Linked DNA regions of Homo sapiens: all the other regions are linked to region 4. The links are contacts of gene promoters, found by promoter capture Hi-C in blood cells and fetal thymus (Javierre and others, 2016). All regions are on one chromosome and are shown on one strand. The core of a region is centred on a gene start or on the middle of the fragment in contact, and the rest is flanking DNA. Distances in the headings are between cores, read along the strand shown.

Evidence for each region. Contacts are between HindIII fragments. The CHiCAGO score rates a contact against its expected background, and 5 or more counts as called.
Region 1: a fragment that was not itself captured here is called in contact with the fragment with the promoter of IFT81 in region 4 in 1 of 17 cell types (M2 macrophages); the score reaches 5.7 in M2 macrophages.
Region 2: a fragment that was not itself captured here is called in contact with the fragment with the promoter of IFT81 in region 4 in 3 of 17 cell types (endothelial precursors, M0 macrophages and megakaryocytes); the score reaches 9.4 in endothelial precursors.
Region 3: a fragment that was not itself captured here is called in contact with the fragment with the promoter of IFT81 in region 4 in 2 of 17 cell types (M2 macrophages and endothelial precursors); the score reaches 6.7 in M2 macrophages.

Annotation. Positions count from the first base shown.
Region 1 is chr12:110,206,878-110,210,005 of GRCh38, forward strand. IFT81 (intraflagellar transport 81) reads left to right here. Exons shown (of 19, transcript NM_014055.4): 18 at 2,294-2,339. Among named protein-coding and RNA genes, the nearest start is that of ATP2A2, 73 kb to the right of the region's middle. The HindIII fragment of the contact is 7,375 bases long and covers 1-3,128 here.
Region 2 is chr12:110,247,272-110,250,135 of GRCh38, forward strand. No RefSeq gene overlaps it. Among named protein-coding and RNA genes, the nearest start is that of ATP2A2, 33 kb to the right of the region's middle. The HindIII fragment of the contact is 2,690 bases long and covers 230-2,864 here.
Region 3 is chr12:110,222,987-110,226,065 of GRCh38, forward strand. No RefSeq gene overlaps it. Among named protein-coding and RNA genes, the nearest start is that of ATP2A2, 57 kb to the right of the region's middle. RefSeq lists an enhancer at 760-1,260. The HindIII fragment of the contact is 7,275 bases long and covers 1-3,079 here.
Region 4 is chr12:110,122,692-110,125,862 of GRCh38, forward strand. It overlaps IFT81 (intraflagellar transport 81), which reads left to right and starts at 1,666. Exons shown (of 19, transcript NM_014055.4): 1 at 1,666-2,170. RefSeq lists a silencer at 1,480-1,749. The HindIII fragment of the contact is 3,777 bases long and covers 1,379-3,171 here.

The sequences.
Region 1 (3,128 bases), core at 136-2,635, 84 kb after region 4:
GGCCAATGATAAGAAATGAGAAAAGTTAAATTTGTTCTTAAAAAATAAAAATTTTTATAAATTAAGTTCTATTTCTTCCAAAGTTATCGATATAAATAGCAAAGAAGGAAATAATTGCTCTTGAACTATTCATTTTCTGATCTGTCTTCTAGCCAGATTTTTTTTTTTTTGAGACGGAGTCTTGCTCTGTCACCCAGGCTGGAGTGCAGTGGCACGATCTCGGCTCACTGCAATCTCCGCCTCCCAGGTTCAAACATATTCTCCTGCCTCAGCCTCCCAAGTAGCTGGGATTACAGGCACACGCCACTGTGTTTGGCTAATTTTTGTTATTTGTATTTTTGTAGTTTATATTTTTGTATTTTTGTAGAAATGGGGTTTCACCATGTTAGCCAGGTTGGTCTCAAACTCCTGACCTCAAGTGAACCACCCTCCTCAGCCTCCCAGAGTGCTGGGATTACAGGCATGAGCCACCACGCCCTACTGAAAATGAGGATTCATCAAGACTAATTGCAAAATTTTCCTTTACTTAGACTGCTGTATTTTCTCTTTTTATGGCTTAGGATTTCTTGGAGTCCCAATTTTATATTGTTTAATTTTTTCTTAAATACTGCAGCGTAGCTTCACACACAAAAACAGTCTCTTCTTTGTTCTGTGTTCCTTTACCCCTCGTCCTTCAGTCTTTTTTTTTTTTTTTTTTTTTTTTGAGACGGAGTCTCACTCTGTTGCCCAGGCTGGAGTGCAGTGGCGTGATCTCAGCTCACTGCAACCTCCGCCTCCTGGGTTCACGCCATTCTCCTGCCTCAGCCTCCTGAGTAGCTGGGACTACAGGTGCCCGCCACCACGCCTGGCTAAATTTTTTGAATTTTTAGTAGAGACAGGGTTTCACCGTGTTAGCCAGGATGGTCTCGATCTCCTGACCTCGTGAGCCACCGCGCCCAGCCCCAGCCTTCAGTCTTTATCCTTAACATGTCACCTGCTTTAAATCTCACATTTTGTCTTAAATAGTATTGAAATATAATTTTGTTTACAAATAAAATACAATGTTATTATGTTTTTAATTTTTACATTAAAATTTTTTTTTTAGCTTACAAAAGAAATACTTGTAAAAACAACAGTAACCATTATGAAGTAGTGTGCACAGAAGTTGAATGCTGTCCATTATTGCCATGTCTCAGAAATGTCTACTGTTAATACTTTGGTGTACATTAAGCCATATTCTTTTCCCATGCGTTTGCTGATACATCTGTATATATGTGTGTTAGTTAATGCATGGGAAATGTTATATGTATGTGTGTATACACACACGTATACATACATATGTATATAAAAATAAGATTAAACTGCTCCTGGGTGTAGTGGCTCACACCTGTAATCCTAGCATTTGGGAAGCTGAGATGAGCCAATTGCTTGAGCCCCAGAGTTCAAGACCAGCCTGGGCAACATGGCAAAACCCTGTGTCTACCAAAAAAATACAAAAAAATTAGCCCAATATGGCGACACATGTCTGTAATCCCAGTATCTGGGAGGCTAAAGTGGGAGATTCACTTGGGCCAGGGAGGTGGAGGCTACAATGAGGTGTGATCATGCCACTGCACTCCAACCTGGGCAACAGAGTGAGACCTTGTCTCAAAGGAAAAAAAAAAGATTAAACTACATATGCTGTTTTTCTCTTGATCTAGAATATTTTCCACTTCAGTATTTATAGATTTACCTCATTCTTTTGTATAACTCCTTATTATTTGTTTCAATAGATATGCCATAATTTGCTTAAACATTTTCCCATCTATAGACATTTAGTTTGTTTGCATATTTTCACTATTATAAGCATTGATGAAATAAATAGTCTGCTTTTATGTTTATTTAAGTTATGGGATATTTTTGTAGGATGACTTCCTAGAAGTAGAATTGCAAGATTACATGCTACTTAATGTTTATTTAAAATGTATATCCTTTCTCCTTTCTACAAACCTCTTCAAAAACAATGTGTAATTTAAGCAGATGGGTTGCCATTGTTTTGAGGGTAGATTAACCAGAAATAGTATTTAACATTTTAATTATCTTAATTTCCTATTAAATGTTTTGCTTTCTTTTTTTTCCTTAAATTACTATTTACTTGAAGAACTAACTAAAGATGGGGAAAGACAAAGAATTTTATAATGGGTTTCATTCTGACTCCAGTACCCTAAACTATATTGCCTAGTGTATTTTAGATAGATATATTAATTTATAATTCACTTGTATGATCAAATCATTTGAAGTAAATTGAAAGTAAATCATTATGTTGACTCCCTAGGGAACAGTATACCAAAAATACTGCTGAACAAGAAAACCTTGGAAAGGTAAGAATTATTATTTATTTTTTTAAATGTGTCTAACTGATTCAGGCTTTCAGTACTGTACATGGTTTATGACTGTCATTGTTTTCAAAAGGTCATAGTACAGTTTTTGAGGGGAAATTGTTCATTCATTTTAAAGATGGAAGACTTCCTTAAGAATTTAGTTTTACAGAAATAAAGTCACGATGGATTTTTGAAAGAAAAAATTATCTATTTTTAAATCACAGAGAGTTCATGATAATGTTCTGCGTTACAGTTTTCAGATTATCCTCAGGCTGGGCGCGGTGGCTCACGCCTGTAATCCCAGCACTTTGGAAGGCCAAGGCCAGTGGATCAGTTGAGGTCAGGAACTCAAGACCAGCCTGGCCAAAATGGTGAAACCCCGTCTCTATGAAAAATACAAAAATTAGCCAGGCGTGGTGGCAGGCGCCTGTAATCCCAGCTACTCTGGAGCCTGAGGCAGGAGAATCACTTGAACCAGGGAGGCAAAGGTTGCAGTGAGCCGAGATTGCGCCATTGCACTCTAGCCTGGGTGACAGAGCGATACTCCATCTCAAAAAAAAAAAAAAAAAAAATTATTCTCAGATATCTCTTTATGAGATAGGTGTAAATTTATTCATTTACTTTATTTAATAAACACAAAGTTCTAAGCCCTAGTCTAAGCGCTTTACAAACATTGATTTATTTAATACAAACAACTGAAAAACCTTGCTTGAGATGCTCAGCTCCCTCCTGCCAGAGTTATCTGATGGCAACTGAAATAGGACTGTATAATTATTTTTCTTAGTTCTC
Region 2 (2,864 bases), core at 325-2,824, 120 kb after region 4:
GAAAGAACACACAGGTTCCTCAAGACACCCACTTATATGGCAGTAAGCAAGGCTAAAAAAGGAGTGTTCCCCTGCCCCAGAGGACAAAGGCTGGCAAGAGGAAGGCACGCAACACTGCCCAGCTCAGGCTCTGCACTGTCATTCTGTGTTTCCCTCGGACCCTGTAGTGGATTGAACCAAGGAGTGCCCTGGAGTAGGTCATCATTTTCTGGGCGGCTAGTTAATGATAAGCTTTCAGCTGGGAAGGAGCCAGAAGGAAAGAGGCTTCCTCAGGGGGCAGGAGCACGCAGGCCTCCAAGCCCCACACCTGCTGTGTCATGTCAGAGGTGCCAGAGCACCCTTTGACTGCCTGAAGAGGTCTCGGCTTGCCACCCACCAGGGTCAGGTCGTCTCAGGTCCCCGGGGAGGTTTGACTAGCCAAGAGCCCCAGGCAGAGGCACCAGGAGAGGAGAGCAGCATTGGCAGGGCCTGCCCTCTCCCAGAGCAAACAGGGACAAAGGTTGGTGTACTCACGGCTGCCTCTCCCATCCTGCCTGTGCCTGCCCGCCACACCAGATACTCCAGGTTGTCCCAGCATTGCTACATTAGGCAGGAATCTGTCATCTCTGCCTGCTGGGTCACTCATTACCCCAGATCCAATTCCCAGGCAGGGAAGTTTGGGGCATCAGAGCAGCGGAGAAGGCTTTGGCATTCAGGAGCTTTAAAACAGAAAAGCTGTCGTGTCTGTACCTGTTCAGTAGGGAGCCAAACGTGTTTATTGCATGTGTTATGATGCTATCGTGAAAGTATGCATGAAAGGAAATAATTTGTAAGCTCGCTACCCTGCCTGTCTGGAAAAGTGGGGCCCTCTGTGTAAACCCCAGCTCTGCAGGCATTCTGAGAGCTTGAACATTCCTTGTGACTATTTCTTATACTACATTTCACTGCCACCCCAGTGTGTTTGAATTTGTCTCTGCGCCAGCAGGTCGGAGTACCCATTGGGATTCTCTGTGAGAATTCAAACAAGTTGGAGGCGCTGAGGTTGCCAAGTGCAACCAGGTCTGGCACAGACTTGGCGTGAGAGAGAGCAGGAGCAAGAAGGCTTGGACATCATGAATCACTGAAGCCCTGGCCCATATAGCCTTCTTGTTTGGGATTAGTATAGAAGTGTTGTTTTTCCTTCTTTATACCTGAGAATGGCCTTCAGCTGCTGAAATGATGATATTTATCAAGGTAGTACTATACTAAGAACTGAATGAATGATCTCATTTACCTCCCACCTCAAACCCATGAGATAGATACAGATGAGGACCCATGCTCAGAGAATTTGAGTAACATGCTTAAGGTGACCTCCTACTTCATCTGCAGTTATTTTGTTTGTTTGTTTGTTTATTCATTTGAGATGGAATCTCACTCTGTTGCCCAGGCTGGAGGGCAGTGGCACAATCTCAGCTCGCTACAAACTCCACCTCCCAGGTTCAAGCGATTCTCCTTGCTCAGCCTCCTGAGTAGCTGCGATTACAGGCGTGCACCACCATGCCTGGCTAATTTTTGTAGTTTTAGTGGAGACAGGGTTTCACCATGTTGACCAGGCTGGTCTCAAACTCCTGGCCTCAAGTGATCCACCCACCTCAGCCTCCCAAAGTGCTGGGACTACAAACATGAGCCACCTTGCCTGGCCTCATCTGCAGATAAGACTTGCTAGCACCCTATTCTGAAAGGAGAGGAAGAAAGAAGATGAGGATGAGTATTTCTGAGGGCTGTAGTTGTGTACTGGTTTCTTAGAAGCTAGGGCCCTCCTGATTTATATTCCATGGGGCTGTCTGAGGAAGTTGTTTAGCTTTTGAGGTGATAGATGAGGGCTGGGTCACTTCTGTTTGCAGAGTGTGGGCTGAAGGGTAAGTCAGGACATTTCTCCTCTGGTCCCCATCAGGGACTCACAGGCTGACTCCTGTGGCTGTGTTTATATCATCATTTTTAAGGCATCAGTACCAGCATGGCAGCTCTAAGCTCCCTCTTCCTTTTGCCGTCCTCCATGTGGAAAGAAGCCAAACGGGAGAACTTCCCCAACCATTTCCCCTCAGTGCAGCTGGTACCAGCTTGAAACCTAAGACACATAGCACTGCAGCCCGGCCAAAGCATGGCTAATCCGTGTTTCTTTAGACACAGCAGGAAGCTGCTCTGTGGCCTGGTGTCAGGAACCATCTCAGGGCCCATGGGTGTTCTGCTTCCTTGGTTTGACCCTGAGGGGTCAGCTGGCAGGTGAAGCCCATCAACACTGACTCTGTAGACGGGGACTATCATCAGCAGCTTATGGAAGAGAGGGAAGAGGATGTCTGGGATTTGAATCTTTTACTCAGGGCCTTTTCTGGAAAAGCAGTCTCTTTGGAAAAGGAGGATGATAGAGGAGTTTCCATAAGGTGGAAACGGCTCCCTCCATGTGTGACTGTGAGAAGGGAGTGTCGGTCCAGTGCCATGTCCCATTCCAACAGGTGGCCTCCAGTTGCCATCAGTGCCCTTCGCCATGCCTTCGTCCTGGGGGTGGCCTGCAGTGTTGGTAGGGGACCCTGCCTTTCCTGGCCATCCCCATAGGCCACAGGCCCCTCCAGTATGCTGCTCCTGCACGGTGCCCAGAGCCTGTTCCACCCCGCCAGGCACCTCTGTCCGTCACATCGGCTGCACACATCAGCTCTGCCCCACTCTGTGTTTCTGAATTACTCTCACTGGCAACCAGCACAAGCTCTGCCCTCCCAGTGTCCTGATATCCTCTGGTTAATAAGCAGCTCACATAAAGACACCAAGAGCTGTTGCAAGTGGTAGAGAAAAGCCACAGCTCTCTGAATACAGTCCAGGAAGCCCTGGACTTGGCCCAGGAACTTGGTGGC
Region 3 (3,079 bases), core at 200-2,699, 100 kb after region 4:
GAGTTTTGCTCTTTTTGCCCAGGCTGGAGTGCAATGGCAGGATCTTGGCTCCCTGCAACCTCCGCCTCCCGCGTTCAAGCAATTCTCCTACCTCAGCCTCCCAAGTAGCTGGGATTACCGGCATGTGCTACCACGGCCAGCTAACTTTTTGTATTTTTAGTAGAGATGGGGTTTCACCATATTGGTCAGCTGGTCTTGAACTCCAGACCTCAGGTGATTCACCCGCCTCGGCCTCCCAAAGTGCTGAGATTACAGGCATAAGCCACCGCGCCCGGCCCCAAGTATGTTTCTTAACTTTTTAAGGTAACACAATACAGAGCACTTTTTATAATTTGAGTAAAATAAAAGACTAAATATATTGCTGAAACTAAAAATATACAAATTTGCAGAATTCTTCTGAGTTGAATATGAAAAATGGCAAACTGATAACTTGTCAAAGCTGTCTCTACAAAGGCAAAGTCAAAGTTTGCATTGAAAAATGACTTTGTAGCTGGGCACAGTGGCTCACGCTTGTAATCTCAGCACTTTGGGAGGCCAAGGCAGGCAGATCGCCTGAGGTCAAGAGTTCGTGACCAGCCTGACCAACAAGGAGAAATCCCATCTCTGCTAAAAATACAAAATTAGCCAGGCGTGGTGGTGTATGCCTGTAATCCCAGCTACTCGGGAGGCTGAGGCAGGAGAATCACTTGAACCTGGGAGGTGGAGGTTGCAGCGAGCCAGATTGCTCCATTGCACTCCAGCCTGGGCAACAAGAGCGAAACTCCATCTCAAAAAAAAAAAAGAAAAAAGAAAAAGAAAAATGACTTTGTATGCAGGTGTGTGTCTTATAGAAGCCTTGTCTTATGCAGGCATTCTACCCTATATTAGTGACTAATGAGTGTGAGTAAATGACTTGTTTCTACAAAGGATTCTAGGTGCTTACATCATTCATCTTGTCTGGCATGAAGGAGTCTTTAGCCCCAGGGAACGGGTAAGATAGCATCCTGATGATTAACTTTCTTTAAACTTGGTTTTATCAGTAACGTCATTGTTACTGATTGTTACTCACCTACAGGTGAGGAGTAGATTACATATGCAACAGATCTTTCTTTTTTAGACAATTCATGGCAGCCAGGAGAGAAATAAAGCTGTATCTTTATTAAATATGTAAATTATTCCTCCACTCATACTGGCTTAGCTCCTCTTCCTCTTCCTTTTAATGAGAGCAGTTTAAATTAGAGCTGCTTGGCGTATGGCAGCCAGGCCTGGGATGAGTGTTTTGTCTCGGGGGATGGAGAGGGATCATTAAAAGTTATCTATGTATTTTTTATCTTTGACCCTACTGTCTTAAGATAATCTTAAAAAGAGAAGTTGACTGTAAATATTGTTTAGCCCCACCCCATCCTTGCAAAAGAAATCAAAAAATAAAACACAGATCCCAAATAAGTATTTTTAAGAGACTTGGACAAACATATGCTTTCTGCTCCTATGCTCCCTCTTTTGGCAAACTGGAAGTACTTTCTTGGCAAACATCGATATTTTCACAATTTCCTTTCCAGAATTGCTGAGAGGCTTGAGTCACCAAACTTGGTTTACTGCTATGGAAATTCACTATTCCGAGCACAGGAAGAAATTAAAGATTTTTGTTTTTCGGTGAAAGTATGTGTTTACACCTCAGTTCAGAGTGTAACAGCAGGTTCCTGGCTTGGCTGCTTAATGCTGCATGCGATATCCTGGTAAACAGTCATAGAATTTTGGAGCTTGAAAGGAACCTCAGAATGATTCATATAATCATTTATTAGATCAGGAGCTTTGAGGGATCTCTTCCAACCTCTCTCCAGTGTGGAAATCAGTTCTGTAGCGCATGTAGCGAATCACTTTCCAGCCATAGTAGTGTACCCGCAATGCGGCTCACTCCTCATGAGGGAGCCTGTTTCATTGTTAGAGCACAACCTAATTAAGTTATTGGTTCTGAAACTGAAGCAGACTTACAAAGGACTTTTTATGAACTTCAGTTATGCAAAGCAAGATTTAACAAATTTTATTCCCTGAAGCTCTAATCACGACCATGATCATGAGTGATTCAAGCAAATAACCTGGTACTGAGCACTCCATTTGTACCAGGCACTGTCCTAAATGCTTTATATGTGTAGAACTAACATAACTCTCACAATAACCTTATGAGGCAGCTGCAATTATCCGCATTTTATAGATAAGGGAACTGAAGCACAGAGAGACTTTCACAATATTATACAACTAATGATTGTGGCAGAGCCAGGATCCAAAACCTGTGCTCTTAAGTACTTATATTGCAGTGTGACCCATGTATATACCTATTGTATATAAGCAAACAGATTGATGTCTGTTTATGAGTTATGGTATGAAATAATTTTTAGTGCTTATTATAAAATTATAGTACCTTTTTTTAAAAAATGTGTTTGCTTACTATACCTAAAGAATAAACTTTACTAAATGGTTAAAAGTAACCTCAACCAACCAGATGAGGGAATTATACTGAAAATAAATGTTCAGTAAATGAATGAAAGAAATGAGTAGTAGTTTTAAATACAGAGCAAACTGAAACTTTATAGGGTTATCATTTAAATCTATCTGTGTGTTAAAATCATGCATGTCTCCAATTGCTGGACATTTAGATCAACTCCAGTTTTTCACTTTATGAACAATGCTGGAATGAAACTTAAAGATTGAAATACAGCTGGGTGGCCAGGCACGGTGGCTCACGCTTGTAATCTCAGCACTTTGGGAGGCTGAGGTGGGCGGATCATGAGGTCAGAAGTTCCAGACCAGCCTGACCAACCCAGTGAAACCCCATCTCTACTAAAAACACAAAAATTAGCTGGGCGTGGTGGCAGGTGCCTATAATCCCAGCTACTTGGGAGGCTAAGGCAGGAGAATCTTGAACCCAGGAGGCCTCCGCCTGGGTTGCAGTGAGTCGAGGTCACACCACTGCACTCCAGCTTGGGCGACAGAGCTAGACTCCGTCTGGAGAAAAAAAAAAAAAGAAAGAAAGAAATACAGCTGGGTGTGGTGCTCATGCCTTATCCTAGCACTTCGGGAGGCTACGGCAAGAGAATCACTT
Region 4 (3,171 bases), core at 416-2,915:
GTCTTGGAATGTTGTGTTGCCTCTGCCCAAAACACTCTCCCTTTTCCTGTTTGGCTAATTTTTACTGATCCTTTTTAAGAGATGGGGGTCTCCTTCTGTTGCCCAGCCTGGAGTGCAATGGTGCCACCCCTGACCAATTTTTGCTTTTAATTTTTTGTAGAGAAAGGGTCTTGCTCTGTTACCCAGGCTGATCCTGAACTCCTGGGCTCAAAGTTATCTTGTTGCCTTGGTCTCTCAAAGTGCTGAGATTACAGGCGTGAGCCACGGTGCCAGGCCTAATTTTTACTGATCCTTAAACATCACTCCATTTGACAGAAACTTTCCTGATGGTATGGCCCCTTTGGCACCACCCTCCCCAAATAAACTTGAGGCCCTTAATCTGGGCTCCTAATCATTGGCTTCTCTTGTTACAGCATTTATCTCAATTGTATTGGTGTTGCCCCTTTAATAATCTCTGCCGGCACTAGACTGTCAGCTCCATCAGGGCAGGGGCCAGGTAAGTCCTGCCCTTCTGCATTTCCAGCAGCCTGTACAGTACAGGGCATATAGGAAATGCCTAATACGTAATCTGTTATTTTTTGTTGTGGTAAGTCTGATGCTAAAGCTATAGTTGGTTTCTCCTATGCTGTTTGAGCAGGCAACTAAGTTTTCAAGGTATCAATAATTTGATTTTTTTTCCTTCTCTTTCTTTCATTGCCAGCTGATATCACTAAGTATCGTGGTCTCTAGTCTAATAGAGGTTGGTTCAAAATACCATTTGCCAACTAAGGTCTCCCACAAACCAGCTAGTGCAAATTCCAGTAGACTTTTAAACCTCATCAGTGACTGGGCACAAAGATCTCCCTGCGTCCTGCGTGGGATGTGAACTCCATGAAGACCACAAGGAGGATTTAATTTATTTCTGCAGTCACCTAAAGAGAGCCCACTCAGAAGCCAAAGGAACATTAGGACACTTAGTTCTCCCACACCCCCTTTCAGGCTCTCAGCATACTCAAAACGTATTGGGTTTAAAAAAATTTAATTCCCAGTACAGGCAATGTGGCCCAGTAATGTGACACAGAAGCTGAAATCTCTATGATGAATGTGTCTTCTTTTAATCCTGCCAGAGCCTCACTACAATTGTTCCTATGCATAACCTAATTTGGAGATACTTATGTCAAAAACCTAAATTTGAAGCACTGGCCAAATGCTTGCTCATCCCAACCCCCCTACCACCCAGCCCTGCCTCAAAAACAAACAAAAATCATCACCCACGTTTGGCGCATGAATGCATGCATGCATGCATGAATGAATGAATGAATGAAACATCACACGCATTTAACATAGGTTAATCATGCAGAGAGTATTTTGTAAACTGCGAAGTGCAGGACTTTCGGGAAGCTTATTGTAGCGCGTCTAGGTCGGAGTAACAGTCCCAAATGCCCTCGGCTGTCTGCAGTGGCTCAGCACGTGGGCCCGCTTTGCAAGTAAGCCCGGCTCCCGTCCGCCCCGTCCGCCCCGCCCCGTCCCGCCCCGTCCCGTCCGCTCCGCCCCGCCCCGCCCCGTCCGCTCCGCCCCGCGCCCGTCCTCCCCGCCCTGGCCCGGCCCCGCCCCCCAGCTCGTGCGCGCGCGCGCGGGAGAGCGGCCGCTCGCCCGGAAGTGACGTAACTCTACGGCCTAGCAACCGTTGCCAAGGAGCTCGACTCTGGGAGCGGTCTAGAGCCCGGGCGCCTCCTGGGGGGTGGGGAAACGGTTTCGTGAGGAGAATTTGAGGTAACCTCGCCAACTCGCGGTCGGAAGCTCCTCTGAACCCCGAAATAGGAGAGAGCTCCCGTCCTCTCTCGGTCCTGATGCAGCACCTCGCAAGTGGAAGGGGTCGTCGCGGTTAAGCCCCCGGATAGGGGAATCGGGCCCCTTCTGGGATTCGAGCGGATCCAGGCCGCTCCCTGGAGGGATGAACTGTCGAGGGGCCCAGGGCAGCCCCCGCTAGAGGCCCGGTCGGGTGTGGGGTCCCCTGTCCCCTGTCCCGAGCCCGGGGAGGGGGACACTATTTCTGGTACTCCCAGGAGGCTGCGGGTCGATGCTCGTGCCAGCCTGGGACCCAGGCAGCACGGTTTCTCTCCCAAATTGTGCCAGAGAACACGCACGTCCTGGTTTTCATTGTTCCCCGCCTCCTGCGACTCGTTTGTGGGTGAGTGCTTGGGAATTAGCGCGGCGACTTCGCGCTAGAAGAGGGACAGTAATTGCTTTTGCTAATTTTAGAGCGCAGAGCCCGCTGGGCACAGACAGCCTTCCTGTTCAGTACATCTTTGTCCTTATCGAGTGACCATTTTTGCAGGCTGGTGGGCGACTTGGGGGGAACCCAACTGGTTTATTTTGCCTTCCTGGAAACGTTGTACTAGTTTATCCAGATTTTTTTTTAAGGGAAAAAAGAGTAGACCTATAGATAATTTCTAAATCATTTAAAATGAAATACATATTTCTGCACGCAAAGGTTATGACGTGGACTTTTACTTAAAATACTTTAAACAATGGAAAACTTGCACTTCCAATATGGATTTTAAAAAAAAACTTACGTAAAGGTTTTCCTTTTATAGCTTAAAGGAAACCTCAGATTTATTATAAGCCATGGTGGTTATCCTTCCTATCCTCTTTTGACTTATTTCTTAGCAATAATAATTATTTGTGCGTAATTTTTCATCATTGTGGAGAAATTATCTTTTTTATTTTATTTTTTCTGTTGAGACGGAGTCTCTCTCTGTCCCCCAGGCTGGAGTGCAGTGGCGCGATCTCGGCTCACTGCAACCTCCGCCTCCCGGGTTCAAGCAATTCTCCTGCCTCAGCCTCCCAAGTAGCTGGGACTACCGGCGCCCGCCACCACACCTGGCTAATTTTTGTATTTTTAGTAGAGACCGGGTTTCACCATGTTGGCCAGGCTGGCCTCGAACTCCTGACCTCAAGTGATCTGCCTGCCTCGGCCTCCCAAAGTACTGGGATTACAGGAGAGAACGACAGCTCCCGGCAGCAACTCATTGCTTAATTCATTTTTAATCCTTAAAGCATTTACCTAGGTAAAGCTGTTTCAGCAGTTAATAAATCAGATATTCAGTTTTTTAAAAAGTTATGATCTTTCTCACTGCCAGCCTGATTTCCTTTAGATTTAGGCTTATGTTGTACTTGTGCCTGTGAACA